6 separate regions of the Homo sapiens genome follow, and all the other regions are linked to region 1. Evidence: promoter capture Hi-C in 16 types of primary human blood cells and fetal thymus (Javierre and others, 2016). All regions are on one chromosome and are shown on one strand. Each heading gives the region's core, a stretch centred on a gene start or on the middle of the fragment in contact. The rest is flanking DNA. Distances are from core to core; before and after follow the strand shown. Region 1 holds the start of LINC02482 (long intergenic non-protein coding RNA 2482). Region 2 overlaps TBC1D14 (TBC1 domain family member 14). Region 3 overlaps KIAA0232. Region 4 overlaps KIAA0232. Region 5 overlaps KIAA0232. Region 6 overlaps KIAA0232.

Region 1 (2,530 bases), core at 1-2,500:
TACTGGAAATTGAGTGGCTAATGTGGAGAAAACGCAGGCAGAAAAACAGGGGAGACAAAACGAAAGGCTCTCTTGGTTTGAGCCTGTCCAAGCAGCCACGACTCCTTATCAGGTGAACACAGTTCGTCAGTTGGCCACCTAAAGTACAAGTGGGAGAAATTCATCATCACAACATAAATTTTGAGCTTGATATTCTCATATCCGGGAGTCAAACAAACCCAACCACCTGTGCACAATGCTTCCACCTGCAGGAAGGTCATCGCAAACGCTCCAATCTCGTAACAACATTCACACGTTTCCAGCATGTACCTCCGCTTCACACCTCTCTCCCCCCACGTAGTGACCCACCAGGTCTACGTCCTGAAAATACTTCCAGTGGTCATGACTCTTTACAACAACATATCAAATTATTTTCTCTAATTACCTATGAAAAAAGAATGAAACCAACTCCGCGGAGAGCGTGGCACGGCTCTGCGCTCCCCTCCCTGCCTACCCAGCGCCTTCCACGCGGGACACTCCCCGCCGCGCTCCGCTCCAGACCCGCGCGGCCTCGCCGGCTCAGCAGCACTCGCAGCCGGCGATCCGCTGGTGCAGCTCCACGATCCGCCTGCCCATCCGCGCCGCCTCCGCAGCCTTCCTCTCTGCTTCGGCGCACAGCCGAGCCACCCGCTCCTCAGCCTCCGCACGCGGGCGGGGTGCTGGGGCCCGGGCGCCCCGCTCCTCTGCCTCCACCTCACTCTTGATGGCGTCGAGCAGGCTCTGGATCTCCAGCAGCTTCCTGCGGGCCCGCCAGTGCGCCCGGGCGCGCTCGCGCTCCAGGGAGGCCAGGTTCTCGCGGCCGGCGCGGGGCGCGGGGCTCAGCGGGCTGCCCGGCTCCTCGCGGGGCTCCCGCGCCTCGTCCGCGTCCACGGGCCGCATCACGCCGCCGCCTCTTCCAGCCCGCGGGGCACGCCGGGGCTGCTCACCAGCAGCGAGCGCGGAAGCCTCGCTGTCACCAACGACCAGACTAGCAACAGGTTGCCCCAACTTTCCGCAGCGAGGACGGTATCCAAAATGGGCTACTAGCCGTCGGCCAGGACGCTGCCACTGCGGCCCTTTTACGACACCTGCGGTCCTTTACCGCCACGCAGCAAGCGAGAACCGCATTCGGGGCTCCCGCCTCAGCGGTCCTGCGCGCGCACGCGCACTTGCACGCACGCGTACCCCCCCGCACGCATGCGCACCCCATGTCCCCGCCCGCTGTAGCGCCACAGCTCTTTGGGCGTTGATTCTAGGGTCAGGGCCCTCACTCACACTGCTGGAAGGTTAAAGTCGACTTCACGCTAGTTTAAGGAAATATCTGACGCTGATAACCATGTCCCAAGCACTGCTCTAAGTTCCCAATGTGTCCGGAATTGGTGGGTTCTTGGTCTCACTGACTTCAAGAATGAAGCCACGGACCCTCGCGGTGAGTGTTACAGCTCTTAAAGTGGCGCGTCTGGAGTTTGTTCCTTCTGATGTTCGGATGTGTTCGGAGTTTTTTCCTTCTGGTGGGTTCGTGGTCTCGCCGGCTCAGGAGTGAAACTGCAGACCTGTTACGGCTCATAAAGGCAGTGTGGACCCAAAGAGTGAGCAGCAGCAGGATTTATTGCAAAGAGAGAAAGAACAAAGCTTCCACAATAGAAGGGGACCTGAGCCGGTTGCCACTGCTGGCTCCGGCAGCCTGCTTTTATTGTCTTATCTGGCCCCACCCACATCCTGCTGATTGGTAGAGCCGAGTGGTCTGTTTTGACAGGGTGCTGATTGGTGCGTTTACAATCCCTGAGCTAGACACAAAGGTTCTCCAAGGCCCCAGCAGAGTCGATTGGTATATTCACAAACCCTGAGCTAGACACACGGTGCTGATTGGTGTATTTACAATCCCTGAGCTAGACATAAAGGTTCTCCACATCCCCACCAGACTCAGGAGCCCAGCTGGCTTCACCAAGTGGATCCCACACCAGGGCTGCAGGTGGAGCTGCCTGCGAGAACGGCACCGTGCGCCCACACTCCTCAGCCCTTGGGTGGTGATGGGACTGGGCGCCGTGGAGCAGGGGGTGGTGCTCGTCGAGGAGGCTCGGGCAGCACAGGAGCCCATGGAGGGGGTGGGAGGCTCAGGCATGGCGGGCTGCAGGTCCCGAGCCCTGCCCCTCGGAAAGGCAGCTAAGGCCCGGTGAGAAATCGAGCACAGCGCCGGTGGGCTGGCACTGCTGAGGGACCCAGTACACCCTCCGCAGCCGCTGGCCCGGGTGCTAAGCCCCTCATTGCCGGGGGCTGGCAGGGCCAGCCGGCTGCTCCGAGTGCGGGGCCCACCAAGCCCACGCCCACCCTGAACTCCAGCTGGCCCGCAAGCGCCGTGTGCAGCCCCGGTGCCCGCTCGCGCCTCTCCCTCCACACCTCCCTGCAAGCTGAGAGAGCCGGCTCTGGCCTTGGCCAGCCCAGAAAGGGGCCTCCACAGTGCAGCAGTGGGCTGAAGGGCTCCTCAAGTGCTGCCAAAGTGGGAGCCCAGGCA
Region 2 (2,530 bases), core at 22-2,521, 240 kb before region 1:
CTCTGCTCACCTCACCCTGTAAACAGCATGCTGAGTTCTACCGTTTCCAGATGGGAATAACAAAACTGGGCTGAGCAGGTGCAGTGACCCCCAACCCCCTACCCCGGTCGCAGGGGGTTGACCTGAGGCATCTGTCCCCAGCACCCACAGCATTCTCCGCAAGGCCTCTCAGGGTCCCCCATGTTTCCTGGTGAGGATTCTGGGGAGACTAAGAGCCTCCTCATAAAAGCAGCTGCTCTTATGAGCGTCCTGCCCTGGAGGGCAGCACGGTTCAAGAGAAACAGCCCAGTCGAGCCTCTAATGCCAAGGAGAACCCACTGGGCAATGGGGCACCTCCCTGTGAACTGGCCTGCCTGGTAGAGGGCTCCACAAGCACCAACCCCTGCATCTCTTTCTCTTTTTGTTTTGTTTCTGAGACAGAGTCTCACTCTGTCGCCCAGGCTGGAGTGCAGTGGCATGATCTGGGCTCACCACAACCTCCGCCTCCCGGGTTCAAGCGATTCTCCTGCCTCAGCCTCCTGAGTAGCTGGGATTACAGCCGCCCACCACCACGCCCGGCTAATTTTTGTATTTTTAGTAGAGACAGGGTTTCACCCTGTTGGCCAGGCTAGTCTCAAACTCCTGACCTCAAGTGATCGCCTGCCTCAGCCTCCCAAAGTGCTGGGATTACAGATGTGAGCCATTGAGCCCAGCCTCTTTCTCTTTTTTAATTCAAGTCCTGGCTCAGGCAGAAAGGACTGGACGCTCCAGGCTCACGAACATGACCAGCTAGCTGCCTCCGCTCCCCAAGCGCAGATGACACATCAGGCACTGCATTCCATGTCTATATGCACTAGTTCTGTCACCTCCACAACCACCCAAAGAGCTGAAAGAAGACTGCGGTCTAAAGGGTGGTGCGTAGTAACAGAGCTGTGCCGGGCTAGCCTGAGTAGCCGAGGCACTCACTGTTTCCACTGCTACACACACAGCCTAAAACAGTGGATTGATCTGCATTATGTAAAATGGAAAAGGCCATTATAAAAGTAGTTTGGCTTTTAAATGGGTGATTCTTTAGGATAAAAATAGTCCTGAAAAAAATTTCCTAGAAGCTCACATATTCCTCCAGAGGGTGAGTGGCAACTTTCAGACACCTGGAACTTAACACAATGCTGTTTAAGTAAGTTTCAGCCCATGTATGTTTCGGCAAACCAGGCAGAAACTGCGGTTATTGTTCAGGGTCCTCAAAGGCTCCTTCACAACCCGAAGAAGCGGACACTTAACTTATACTGACCACTGGTTATGATTAAAGGCACAGGTGGAACTTTTTTTTTTTTTTTGAGATGGGGTCTCTGTCACCCAGGCTGCAGTACAGATGTATGATCTTGGTTCACTGCAACCTCCACCTCCCAGGCTCAAGTGAGCCTCCCACCTCAGCATCCTGAGTAGCTGGGACCACAGGTGCCCGCCACCACGTCCACCCAGCTAATTTTTTGTTGTTGTTGTTGTTGTTTTGGTAGGGTTTCACCATGTTGCCCAGGCTGGTCTTGAACTCCTGAGCTCAAGTGATCCACCCTCCTCAACCTCCCAAACTGCTGGGATTAGAGGCATGAGCCACAGCGCCTGGCCAGGACATTTTAAATTAAAGACTTTCAATGCAAAATGTTTCAGCTTCACTTAGTGATTTGGTAAATTACTAATTAACTAATTTTCCTAAGTAGCTGTGAAGTGACTGGGAGGCAAATGATACATTAGGAAGATATTTAGACTACTTAAAACCGGTATAGTTTATAATCTTAATTATTCATAAGAGAAATAATTTACTGAGCATTTAGCATGCACCAAGCATGCGGGATGCCATCACATGCTCTAATAATCACAAGCCTGCCAAGGGCACTGAGGAAACTATGAGATTCAGAGAGGCTAAGTCACGCACCCAAGGTCACACAGCAACAGAAACTGAGTTCAAACCAGATCTGACATCAAAGCTCATACATGGCCTGCTGGCGTACTTATGAATGCAGTCCCTAAACTTTATCCCCCTTCCTCTCAGCTCCCTTAATGTTGCCCAAAAGGTATATTCACCCAATAACCCTGATCATCGATAAGCTGAACACTTAACCATTCTTACACTTCTATGTATGTTTGTTAGGCTGCAAATGAAGTTTTAAAAATAAAATAGGCCAGGCGTGGTGGCTCACGCCTGTAATCCCAGCACTTTGGGAGGCCCAGGCAGGTGGATCACCTGAAGTCAGGGGTTCAAAACCAGCCTGGCCAATATAGCAAAACCCTGTCTCCACTAAAAATACAAAATTAGCCAGGCATGGTGGCACATGCCTGTAATCCCAGCTACTGGAGAGGCTGAGGCAGGAGAATCGCTTGAACCTGGGAGACAAAGGTTGCAGTGAGCCGAGATCTCACACCATTGCACTCCAGCCTGGGCAACAAGAGCGAAACGCTGTCTCAAAAAATAGAATAGAATAGAACAGAACAAAACAAAAAACAAAACAAAATCAACAGGAGGGAAAAAATAATGCAGGTTCCAGCAGCAGGC
Region 3 (2,530 bases), core at 16-2,515, 200 kb before region 1:
CATATTCTCATCATCTGGGGGCTTTAGAGAGGCTTAGACTCCTGCCAGAGATTCCAAATGAACTGTCCTGGGCAGGGGCTGGGCACTTTCTGAAAAGCAGATTTGCTCCCAGGCAATTCTAATGCACTGAGAACTGCTGGTCTTCATCCAGAACAGCCTCTTACTCCCCTTACCTCCATGAGAAACATAGCTGGGGCAGAGGCACAGTGCAGAGTAAAAGGAGGAACTTGGCCAGGGTTTTGGACTCTGGCATTGACATTCATGGTGCATTAAGTCCTTTAACACCCTTGAGCATCTACTTCCTCAAAACCAGATCACACCCCCCATCCCCTGCCACAGAGTTGCCACAAGGTAGTTTGACGAGATGACATGCCTGCCCCTTGCACAACACCCCAAAGGACAAGGCTGGAGCAAGTGACTGCTGCGCCCTTCTACCTTGGCACAGAGTAGCGAGGCTGTGCCAAGGGTAAGACCATCTGGGCCCTGCTGGGCTGCTTCCTGCAGCTGCACTGGCCACATGGAAGACTCTCCACAGCTGTTCTCTCTGACGGCTCCAAGAACTCCAAGTTACTAGTTGAGGTTCATGAGAATACCCCAGGCTCTGGGATTAGACAGACTTCAGTCAATTCCAGGTCATGCTATTTACTTGTGATGTAACTTTGCACAAATTATTTAACCTCTTTGAGCCCTAGTATCCTCATCTCTAAGATGAGAACATCACCATTTTCCCTCCTACATTTCTGTGCAAATTCAAAGAGGTGAAGCCTCAAGCACAGTGCCGGGCACACACATTGCACCCATGACCGCTGCTTATCAAAGCCATAGGCTTGGAGGCGTGGTTGCCCTAGGGCGGCTGGGGAGGATGCCATGTGTCCTCTGCTGAGGCTGGGAGGAACCCTGGCTTCATCTCTCCTAAGGAGGCATCTTTTCCTTGGCTGACTTCTCACTCCATGGCCCACTCCATATGGCCACCACTTATACTGGCTGAGGGGCATGGAGTGGATAGGACATGGTTTCCTTGACAAGGATAGCTCAGAGGCAGGCAGGCCCATCTCCACACCCCACTCCTTCATTTTCTCTTCCTGCTTTAGGAATTCTGTACATACAAGAGGGTTTTATTGTGCCACAGGGTATTTGGAAAAGGTGATGCTGAACTGCTGCTGATAGTCTTCATGATGCTCAAGTTGACCACCACCCTGTTTCGGGCTATGACATGCCAGCCACTGTTCTAGGCACTTTACCTTACAATGAGGGCATTCTTCTAGCCTCCTTTTATACATACAGACTACAGAGGCACAGAAAGGCTCAGTCAGCACCCAAAGCCTAATAGCTGGGGAAAGAAGCTCTGGATTCCAATACAGTTCTCAATCCTGGGCCTTTCACCACCTGTCTGTACTGCTTCCCTGCAGGACTCTCTGTCTTTAATGCTAAAATCATCCAGACGCTTACATTACTCGAGTCTTGAAAGCACTGAAAATCCAGGGGCGTGAGCTGTGGAGACTGCTGTTTGGGACGGCACTCCTGGTGCACAGAGTCTACAAGGCCCTCTGTGGTCTGGCTCCCAGCTGCCTGGCTGGCCTCATCCCCACCACACTCCCATGCCATCCCTTCTTTGCCAGTCATGTTGGGGGCATACCCAATGCATTCCTGTCCCTGCACAAGCCACTGCTGCCTGGCACCTCTCCCTGCAGGCAGCCCCAGCTGTCACATGGTCTGTGCCCTATTTCCTCAAGTCCCTGTTGAGAAGGTACCTGAGCAGGGGGAGGACAGGGACACGATCTGTTTGCCTATGCATTCCCAAGTCTAGAACAGTGCCTAACCCAAGTGCTGAAGGGATGCACATATGAATGCGCAGCAAGGCCAGCAGGGGGCAGACTGCACAAAGCTGGGGCTTTCTTATATGGTTACCTGAACAAGCTGCCTCTTTTCTGAGCCTGTTTCCTCGCCTTACTGTAAAGGGGACAATGCTACTCTTCCTTTCCAGAGATGCTGTGAGCTCCCAGGTCAGCCCCTGGCTCAGAGCAGCAACTGCTTGTGATGAATCATATCCAATATTAGAAGCATTAGGAGTCCCCAGCCACTTCTGCTGAGTAGGTAAGTGACTACCTGTTTTCTTGGCTATCCTTCTGAGACTAAATGCCCCAACCCACATAAGCTAAAGAAGGATGCTTCATGATGCTACAGGGCAAATATGCAGGGACTTAACTCACAGTGTGAGCTAAAGGTCATTCAAAAGAAATAATTACCAGTATTTATGCACTGAGAGTTTCTCTATATACCACTTCACTGTAAAAACAAAAATATTATGTACAAACACCAGTATCCACTAAGAGACTGTACAGATAACCAGGAACCTAGAGCTAAGAGGTGAAACTGGATTCTTTACTAACTAATGACAGAAAACTGGACTAAGGGTGCTAAGGTTGCCCTTTACTAAAGAAACATGAACTCTGTGTCTCAAAATCATCCTATGCCACTGCAAGGAATTGGTTCTTTTCCACAAGGTGGCATCCTCCTCTCCCTCCTAGCT
Region 4 (2,530 bases), core at 23-2,522, 180 kb before region 1:
TGAATCTTCTCTTCTGTTATGAAACAAAAATTAAGAAAGATTTGTCTTATATCTAGTTAATAAATGCTAATGTATTTCAAAGTTTCTCAACTAATTTTAACAAGAAATAGAGACTTTGGTGCTTAAAAGGCAAACTCAATACCGATCTTTTTAATAAAAATCTATTTTTTCAGTGTGCCAGAGGGAATTCTCCGATTAAACCACATTAGCATTAGGCCAAGAGGTGAGAGTTGTTCATCTCGTCACTGATACAGTGCTCTAGAGGCACTTAATTAAGAGACTGAAGTCCCCTGTGTACTTATTAATTAGACCAGAAGGACAGAACATCTGTTTAGATTCCAAAACTATTTTCTCACAAAATTCTACACTCATAGACTTTACATTGACTCATCTTGACCAAAACTAATCTGTAAAGAATATTCTTTATTACAATTTGCTCTATTACTTAACATGTAGGTGAGCAAGGGCTATTTCAACTGAAACAGGAAAAAGGGCTATCCCTTAGTTTAGCCTAGGATACTGCCTTAGGTTACAAATCAACTGTGCCCTTAAGAGGCAGGCTCAAGGCTTGGTGGGCAGCAAAATGACCATAAAGAGGGCAAGGAAACAAGGATCCTCACCCTTAATATGAAGGTCTCGTTCTTAGGGATTGCAAACAAGTTAGAAAAAGTATGAGGAGGATTCATATATCGAAATAACTAAATAAGCTTGCCAAGTCTGTGTTTTCAAAAAAGCTGAGTCAAAACAGAAGTCCCTTCCAAACCTGAAGTAATTCATGTCTTAACATCTTAATTTAATGTCGTAATTTAGCAGTCTTAACATCAACAGGCAGATATTAACAGAGGGGCAAGGATGGGGAAAGGAAAGAGACAATATTGTTCCTGATCTCTGAGCTTCAACTTGAAGCCAACAACAATTAAAAAAACCCAAAAAACAGAAAACCATGAAGTGTTTCCTATCTCTGAGGGCACCTGTGGACTAAGTCCCTCCCTTGGTTGCAGGAATCTCTATGAGTGACTGCTGGGTCTGACACAGAAGCCACTAACAGAGCTGCAGATGGAGCATGAGGCTGGCCTAGTGACACACACTGGACACAAAGACTTTGTTCTGGTTGTTTTCTTTTCTGATCAATTCTAAGATTTTCCCCAATCCAGATTCCTCAGGGATGTAATCCTGGCATGTGTGCGCACAGTGCTTTTGACCTCACCTTGCTTACTCTGAAGGTCTTTCAGTCTGGAGCAGAGCTCCTCCACTAAAGTCTCGATACCAGAGCTCTGCATGACAACAAAAAGACACATTAGGTTACAGCCAGGTATGTACAAATCAGGTATTTGTATACTTTTGTTTTAATACACAGGTTTTACAAATCATCCACATTCCAAAATAAATATCTTACCAATATTTACGTGAATACTACAGTTTAAAAATTATAGGTTTGTAGATACAAATTGGTATACATGCTTATTACTAATAAGGCATATTAAATGAAACTTAGTGATAAAATGTGAACATATTCATGTACCTCCCAGAATAGCTTCTGTTTTTCCAAAGGTGTGTCATCTTGCTCATGGGGCAGATTTAAGGGCCTAAATGTCCATCATACGACCAAAAGTCAGTCACCATCAAAAAGAGTATTAAATATTTATGTGAGCGAGATCTTATACCAGACTTAAAACAAAGGAAAATCACAAAACCTCATCTTAGTTCTCTAGGAGCTCACACCCTGAAGAAAACAAGGTGATTTTTTTTTTTTCTGTTTTAAAGAAACATGAACACTCATGATTAAAACAACAGAAGTCCAGAAAATGAAGCCAATATTGCAAATGTGAAAGCTTTGTCTTCTTTTCAGCATCTGGACCAGATTATCGACTTCTATACAAAGCTTGGGAGTTTAAAATTTAAGGAGAGTACATAGAAGAGTCTGGATTTGGGAGGGTAAAAATAAGAGTCAACCTTTAAAGAAAAATGAATGTAGAAAACAGGCACAAGCAAATAATCTTTCATTAGTAGACTTTAACTTTTAAGAGTCTCAATTTCTCACAGGAAGAAAAAAAAATTTTTTTACAGTGGACAAAAAAAGTCAATGTATTTCTCAGAAACTTTAGATTTATTCAGTGACCAAAGTCCTATTTAAACTGGAATCAAGTCCTTATTGGTGGGCATAACCCAAACAGATGCGCGTGATGGAGAGTTCTGCTAAGCCAGTGCCCTCACTAGGCCTTGACGGGCTAAAAATAGAACTTTACCCCATTCACTTAACTCAAAATGACTCAGCACAAATATTATAGATATCCTACATAAGAAATCCCACGGTTACACAGTTTGAGTAGCAAGAAACAGATTACAATGAAAACAGTTAATTGTAAACATCTAGAGTTACATTCTGTCCACGTCATACCACAGGTTTTAATAGGAAGATAGAAAAATAGGCCAGACAAGAGTTGCCCTTTCCTTTAAAAACACTCTTAAAAACGATGGCAGATATTAGTCATAAACACTGTTCAACCACAAACAGTTGCACCAGAAAGCA
Region 5 (2,530 bases), core at 21-2,520, 160 kb before region 1:
TCATACCTATAATCCTAGCAATTTGGGAGGCAGAGGTGGGCAGATCACTTGAGCCCAGGAGTTTGAGAACAGCCTGGCCAACATTGTGAAACTCTGTCTCCAAGAAAAATACAAAAATTAGCCGGGCATGGTGGTGTCCACCTGCAGTCCCAGCTACTTGGAAGGCTGAGGTGGGAGAATTGCTTGAGCCTGGGAGGCGGAGGCTGCAGTGAGCAGAGATCACGCCACTGTGCTCCAGTTTGGGTGACAGAGTAAGACCCTGTCTCAAAAAAAAAAAAAAAAAGCTATCTTTGTTACCCTCATACTTACTAGTTCGGGTAAGATCTTTTAGAATGGAGATAATTTTTCTCAGAATCTGAAAGGTATTGCTCCATAGACTCTCAAATGCAACACTACAGGTTAGAAATCCTAATTCTACAGAATGGGAGTAAATTTTTGCAATCTATCCATCTGACAAAGGGCTAATATCCAGAATCTACAAAGAACTTAAACAAATTTACAAGAAAAAAACAAACAACCGCCTCTGCCTCTCCCTCTCCCTCTCCCTCCCCCTCCCCCTCTCCCCTTTGCACGGTCTCCCTCTAATGCCCAGCCAAGGCTGGACTGTGCTGCCGCCATCTCGGCTCACTGCAACCTCCCTGCCTGATTCTCCTGCCTCAGCCTGCCCGGTGCCTGGGATTGCTGGCACGCGCCGCCCACGCCTGACTGGTTTTTGTATTTTTTGGTGGAGACGGGGTTTCGCCGTGTTGGCTGTGCTGGTCTCCAGCTTCTGACCGCGAGTGATCTGCCAGCTTCGGCCTCCCGAGGTGCCGGGATTGCAGACGGAGTCTCGCTCACTCAGTGCTCAATGTTGCCCAGGCTGGAATGCAGTGGCGTGATCTCGGCTCGCTACAACCTCCACCTCCCAGCCGCCTGCCTTGGCCTCCCAAAGTGCCGAGACTGCAGCCTCTGCCTGGCCGCCACCCCGTCTAGGAAGTGAGGAGCGTCTCTGCCCAGCCGCCCATCGTCTGGGATGTGAGGAGCCCCTCTGCCCGGCCGCCCAGCCTGGGAAGTGAGGAGCGCCTCTTCCCGGCCGTCATCCCGTCTAGGAAGTGAGGAGCCTCTCTGCCCGGCCGCCCATCGTCTGGGATGTGGGGAGCACCTCTGCCCAGCCGCGACCCCATTTGGGAACTGAGGAGCGTCTCTGCCCCGCCGCCAACCCGTCTGGGAGGTGAGGAGCGTCTGTGACCCGCCGCCCCTTCTGAGAAGTGAGGAGCCCCTCCGCCCGGCAGCCGCCCCGCCTGGGAAGTGAGGAGCCCCTCCGCCCCGCCAGCCGGCCCGTTCGGGAGGTGGGGGGCAGCCCCCGCCCGGCCGCTGCCCCGTCTGGGAGGTGGGGGCCCCTCTGCCCGGCCGCCACCCCGTCTGGGAGGTGTACCCAACAGCTCATGGAGAATGGGCCATGATGACGATGGCGGTTTTGTCGAATAGAAAGGGGGGAAGTGTGGGGAAAAGAAAGGGAGATCAGATTGTTACCGTGTCTGTGTGGAAAGAAATAGACAGGAGACTCCATTTTGTTCTGTACTAAGAAAAATTCTTCTGCCTTGGGATGCTGTTAATCTATAACCTTGCCCCCAACCCCGTGCTCTCTGAAACATGTGCTGTGTCCACTAAGGGTTAAATGGATTAAGGGCGGTGCAAGATGTGCTTTGTTAAACAGAGGCTTGAAGGCAGCATGCTCCTTAAGAGTCATCACCGCTCCCTAATCTCACGTACTCAGGGACACAAACACTGCGGAAGGCGGCAGGGCCCTCTGCCTAGGAAAACCAGAGACCTTTGTTCACATGTTTATCTGCTGACCTTCCCTCCACTATTGTCCTACGACCCTGCCAAATCCCCCTCTCCGAGAAACACCCAAGAATGATCAATAAATACTAAAAAAAAAAAAAAGAAAAGAAAAAAAAAAAAGAAAAAGGACAAACAACCCTTAATACAATTATTAAGCACAATAGAGTGAGAAACAAAGAAATCAGGAAAAAGTGAGAACAATATTTCTACAAGTACAAGAAATGGGGGGAAAGTGTTAGGACTCAAAGCCACCAAACTGTGTATTCTAATTTTCAATATACATATATGATTTGCAAAGCCAAAAAAAAAAAACAAAACAAAAAACAAACAAACAACCCCATCAAAAAGTGGGCAAAGGATATGCATAGACACTTCTCAAAAGAAGACATTTATGCAGCCAACAGACATATGAAAAAATGCTCATCATCACTGGTCATCAGAGAAATGCAAATCAAAACCACAATGAGATACCATCTCACACCAGTTAGAATGGCCATCATCAAAAAGTCAGGAAACAACAGATGCTGGAGAAGATGTGGAGAGATAGGAACGCTTCTACACTATTGGTGGGACTGTAAATTAGTTCAACCATTGTGGAAGACAGTGTGGCGATCCCTCAAGGATCTAGAACTAGAAATACCATTGGACCCAGCATTCCCATTACTGGGTATATACCCAAAGGATTATAAATCATGCTACTATAAAG
Region 6 (2,530 bases), core at 17-2,516, 140 kb before region 1:
CAAAACCTCCTTGTCAGTCACTGCAAGAAGAAATACACAAAAAAACCAGTAAGGATATAGAGAGAACAACATTATTAACCAACTTGACCTAAGATAAACTGTATCTTTGGCCACAGAAAAGGTGCAATAAGCTTAAAAGAATTCAATCATACATGCATGTTCTCTGACCACATGGAATTATAACTGGTAACATCAAGATGTCTGGAAAAGCTTCCAAACATTTGAGAACTAAAAACATATTTCTAAACAATAGGGGAGGCTAGGCACAGTGGCTCACGCCTGTAATCCCAGCACTTTGGGAGGCCGAGGCAGGCGGATCACGAGGTCAGGAGATCGAGACCATCCTGGCTAACACGGTGAAACCCCGTCTACTAAAAATACAAAAAAATTAGCCGGGCATGGTGGCGGACGCTTGTAGTCCCAGCTACTTGGGAGGCTGAGGTGAAAGAATCACTTGAACCTGGGAGGAGGAGGCGGCTGCAGCGAGTCGAGATCATGCCAATTAGGAAGTACTATATTTTGAACTGAATATAAATGAAAACACAACCTATCAATATTTTTAGGATGCCACAAAAGCAGTCCTGAGAAAGAAATGTAGAGCACTGTCTACATTAGAAAAGGTCTTAAATCAATGATCTCAGTTTTCACCTTAAGAAACTAGACAAAGAAGAGCAAACGAAGCCTAAACTAAGCAGAAAAAAGCTCAGAGCAGAAACCAGTGAAATAGAAAGCAGAAAAACAATAAAACCAAAAACAGGTTCTTTAACCTCTAGCCAGACTGATCAGGAAAGAGAGAAGACATAGATTACCAGTATCAGGAATGAGAGAGGTGAGATCACTACAGATTCTATAGGTATAAAAATGAGAATAAGGCATATTAGAAAAACTTTATACCAATAAATTCAATAACTTAAATGAAATGGAAAAATTCCTTGAAAGATACAAACTACCAAAGCCTACTCAAGAAGAAACAGAATGAACAGTCCTATATCTATAAAGGGAATTGAATTTATAGTTTAAAATTCACAAAGAAATTGCTAGGCCCATATAGTTTCAAAGGTGAATTCTACCAAATATTTAAGAAAAGCGTAATTCCAATTCTATACAAACTTTCCCAATACTTCTCAAATCATGTTATGAAGACAGCATTAAACTGATACCAAAAGCCAATAAAGATATTACAAGAAACAGGCTGAGCGAGGTGGCTCACGCCTGTAATCCCAGCACTTTGGGAGGCCGAGGCGGGTGGATCACGAGGTCAGGAGATCGATACCATCCTGGCTAACACGGTGAAACCCTGTCTCTACTAAAATACAAAAAAATTAGCCAGGCGTGGTGGCAGGCGCTTGTAGTCCCAGCTACTCGGAAGGCTGAGGCAGGAGAATGGCGTGAACCCGGGAGGTAGAGCTTGCAGTGAGCCGAGATCACGCCACTGCACTCGAGCCTGGGCAACAGAGCGAGGCTCCGTCTCAAAAAAAAAAAACAAAAAAAAGACATTATAAGAAACAAAGAAGACCAATATGCCTCATGAGTACAGATGCAAAAATTTTACACAAATTTTCAGGTAATTGAATCCAATAATATATACATCAAACCCAGAGGATACAAGGATATCAGAAGAATGCTGTTCTACACAATTGTCTACCACAGAACCTCTAAAATATTCGTTTCACTGTACAACTCAAAGGCCTTAAAAATTGACACCATGAAAGATTGGATTCACTGTAAAGACTGATATATTGTTTTAGTTTTATTATGTTTACTTTAAAATGTGATCTCAAGCCAACCATAAGATTCTTTTTGTTGTCGATAGAGAGTTCACATTTATTTAGCCAAGTGAAAGGATTCAAGGAGGTGAGACAAAATCAGCATACGAAGGCAAAATAAAGCAAAGCATATTGAACGCCCACATGATCTCAAAGCTGGTTAAAACCTTTGCTTGCATTATTATCCTTAAGAGAACCGTTCTTACAACTTGTCCAAAATCTGATTGCATGAAATTTTAAAATAACTGGTTATATCTATAGTCATGAGTGATTAAAATCTACACAGTACAGACTGCAGAGGACCAAGGAAAAGAAAGAAAAAGAAAGTAAAGGCTGACAAGTAGCTTCAGACTACTCTACATTCATCTATGCAGTACTTTTCAGTGGATAGTAATAACTGGGGTTTTTAGACAGAAGCACCAACCACACGATGGCTTCTTCCTGTACCATAATGACAGATCTAAATGTTCTTGGAGCTAAAGAGTATTCATTCTCCTTGCTTTAACTCAAACTGTTAGCAGATGACCCACGTACAGAATACCGGGCACTAAGCTTTCTCTACCTAAGCAGCAAGCCTTTGGTAGAGGGGTAAACATTTGACCAAATTAGAGACTATTTCTAGTTGTGAACTGAAAGGAGACTCCTAGGTATGTTGGTTCACGAATTATCTGTTTAATTAAAACTTACTTCACGTATGATCCACCGTGGTGAAACTTACCTCTAATGGTCACAGCACTGAGGGTCAGTGCTGGTTTTGACAAGCA

Evidence for each region. The method cuts DNA at HindIII sites, captures the fragments that hold promoters and counts their contacts. A CHiCAGO score of 5 or more calls a contact.
Region 2: a fragment that was not itself captured here is called in contact with the fragment with the promoter of LINC02482 in region 1 in 11 of 17 cell types (non-activated CD4 T cells, fetal thymus, naive CD8 T cells and 8 more); the score reaches 16.8 in non-activated CD4 T cells.
Region 3: a fragment that was not itself captured here is called in contact with the fragment with the promoter of LINC02482 in region 1 in 16 of 17 cell types (naive CD4 T cells, total CD8 T cells, fetal thymus and 13 more); the score reaches 70.4 in naive CD4 T cells.
Region 4: a fragment that was not itself captured here is called in contact with the fragment with the promoter of LINC02482 in region 1 in 11 of 17 cell types (total CD8 T cells, naive CD4 T cells, total CD4 T cells and 8 more); the score reaches 19.0 in total CD8 T cells.
Region 5: a contact is called between a fragment that was not itself captured here and the fragment with the promoter of LINC02482 in region 1, in 5 of 17 cell types (naive CD4 T cells, naive CD8 T cells, neutrophils and 2 more). The highest score is 7.6, in naive CD4 T cells.
Region 6: a fragment that was not itself captured here is called in contact with the fragment with the promoter of LINC02482 in region 1 in 2 of 17 cell types (total CD8 T cells and naive CD4 T cells); the score reaches 7.0 in total CD8 T cells.

What each region holds. Positions count from the first base shown.
Region 1 is chr4:6,672,601-6,675,130 of GRCh38, reverse strand. It overlaps LINC02482 (long intergenic non-protein coding RNA 2482), which reads left to right and starts at 1,250. Exons shown (of 2, transcript NR_134665.1): 1 at 1,250-1,447. It overlaps MRFAP1L2 (Morf4 family associated protein 1 like 2), which reads right to left and starts at 1,056. Exons shown (of 1, transcript NM_138699.3): 1 at 1-1,056. The coding sequence starts at 918. The coding sequence ends at 559. RefSeq lists a silencer at 752-981 and an enhancer at 1,454-2,062. The HindIII fragment of the contact is 2,330 bases long and covers 1-1,652 here.
Region 2 is chr4:6,912,922-6,915,451 of GRCh38, reverse strand. All of the region lies in intron 1 of TBC1D14 (TBC1 domain family member 14), which reads right to left. Among named protein-coding and RNA genes, the nearest start is that of TBC1D14, 4.4 kb to the right of the region's middle. The HindIII fragment of the contact is 2,613 bases long and covers 1-2,530 here.
Region 3 is chr4:6,873,481-6,876,010 of GRCh38, reverse strand. All of the region lies in intron 8 of KIAA0232, which reads right to left. Among named protein-coding and RNA genes, the nearest start is that of TBC1D14, 35 kb to the left of the region's middle. RefSeq lists a silencer at 1,793-1,952. The HindIII fragment of the contact is 3,243 bases long and covers 1-2,530 here.
Region 4 is chr4:6,855,908-6,858,437 of GRCh38, reverse strand. It overlaps KIAA0232, which reads right to left. Exons shown (of 10, transcript NM_014743.3): 5 at 1,208-1,274; 6 at 1-13. Among named protein-coding and RNA genes, the nearest start is that of TBC1D14, 53 kb to the left of the region's middle. The HindIII fragment of the contact is 1,125 bases long and covers 710-1,834 here.
Region 5 is chr4:6,835,943-6,838,472 of GRCh38, reverse strand. All of the region lies in intron 3 of KIAA0232, which reads right to left. Among named protein-coding and RNA genes, the nearest start is that of KIAA0232, 54 kb to the right of the region's middle. The HindIII fragment of the contact is 3,921 bases long and covers 1-2,530 here.
Region 6 is chr4:6,815,242-6,817,771 of GRCh38, reverse strand. All of the region lies in intron 2 of KIAA0232, which reads right to left. Among named protein-coding and RNA genes, the nearest start is that of KIAA0232, 34 kb to the right of the region's middle. The HindIII fragment of the contact is 2,108 bases long and covers 213-2,320 here.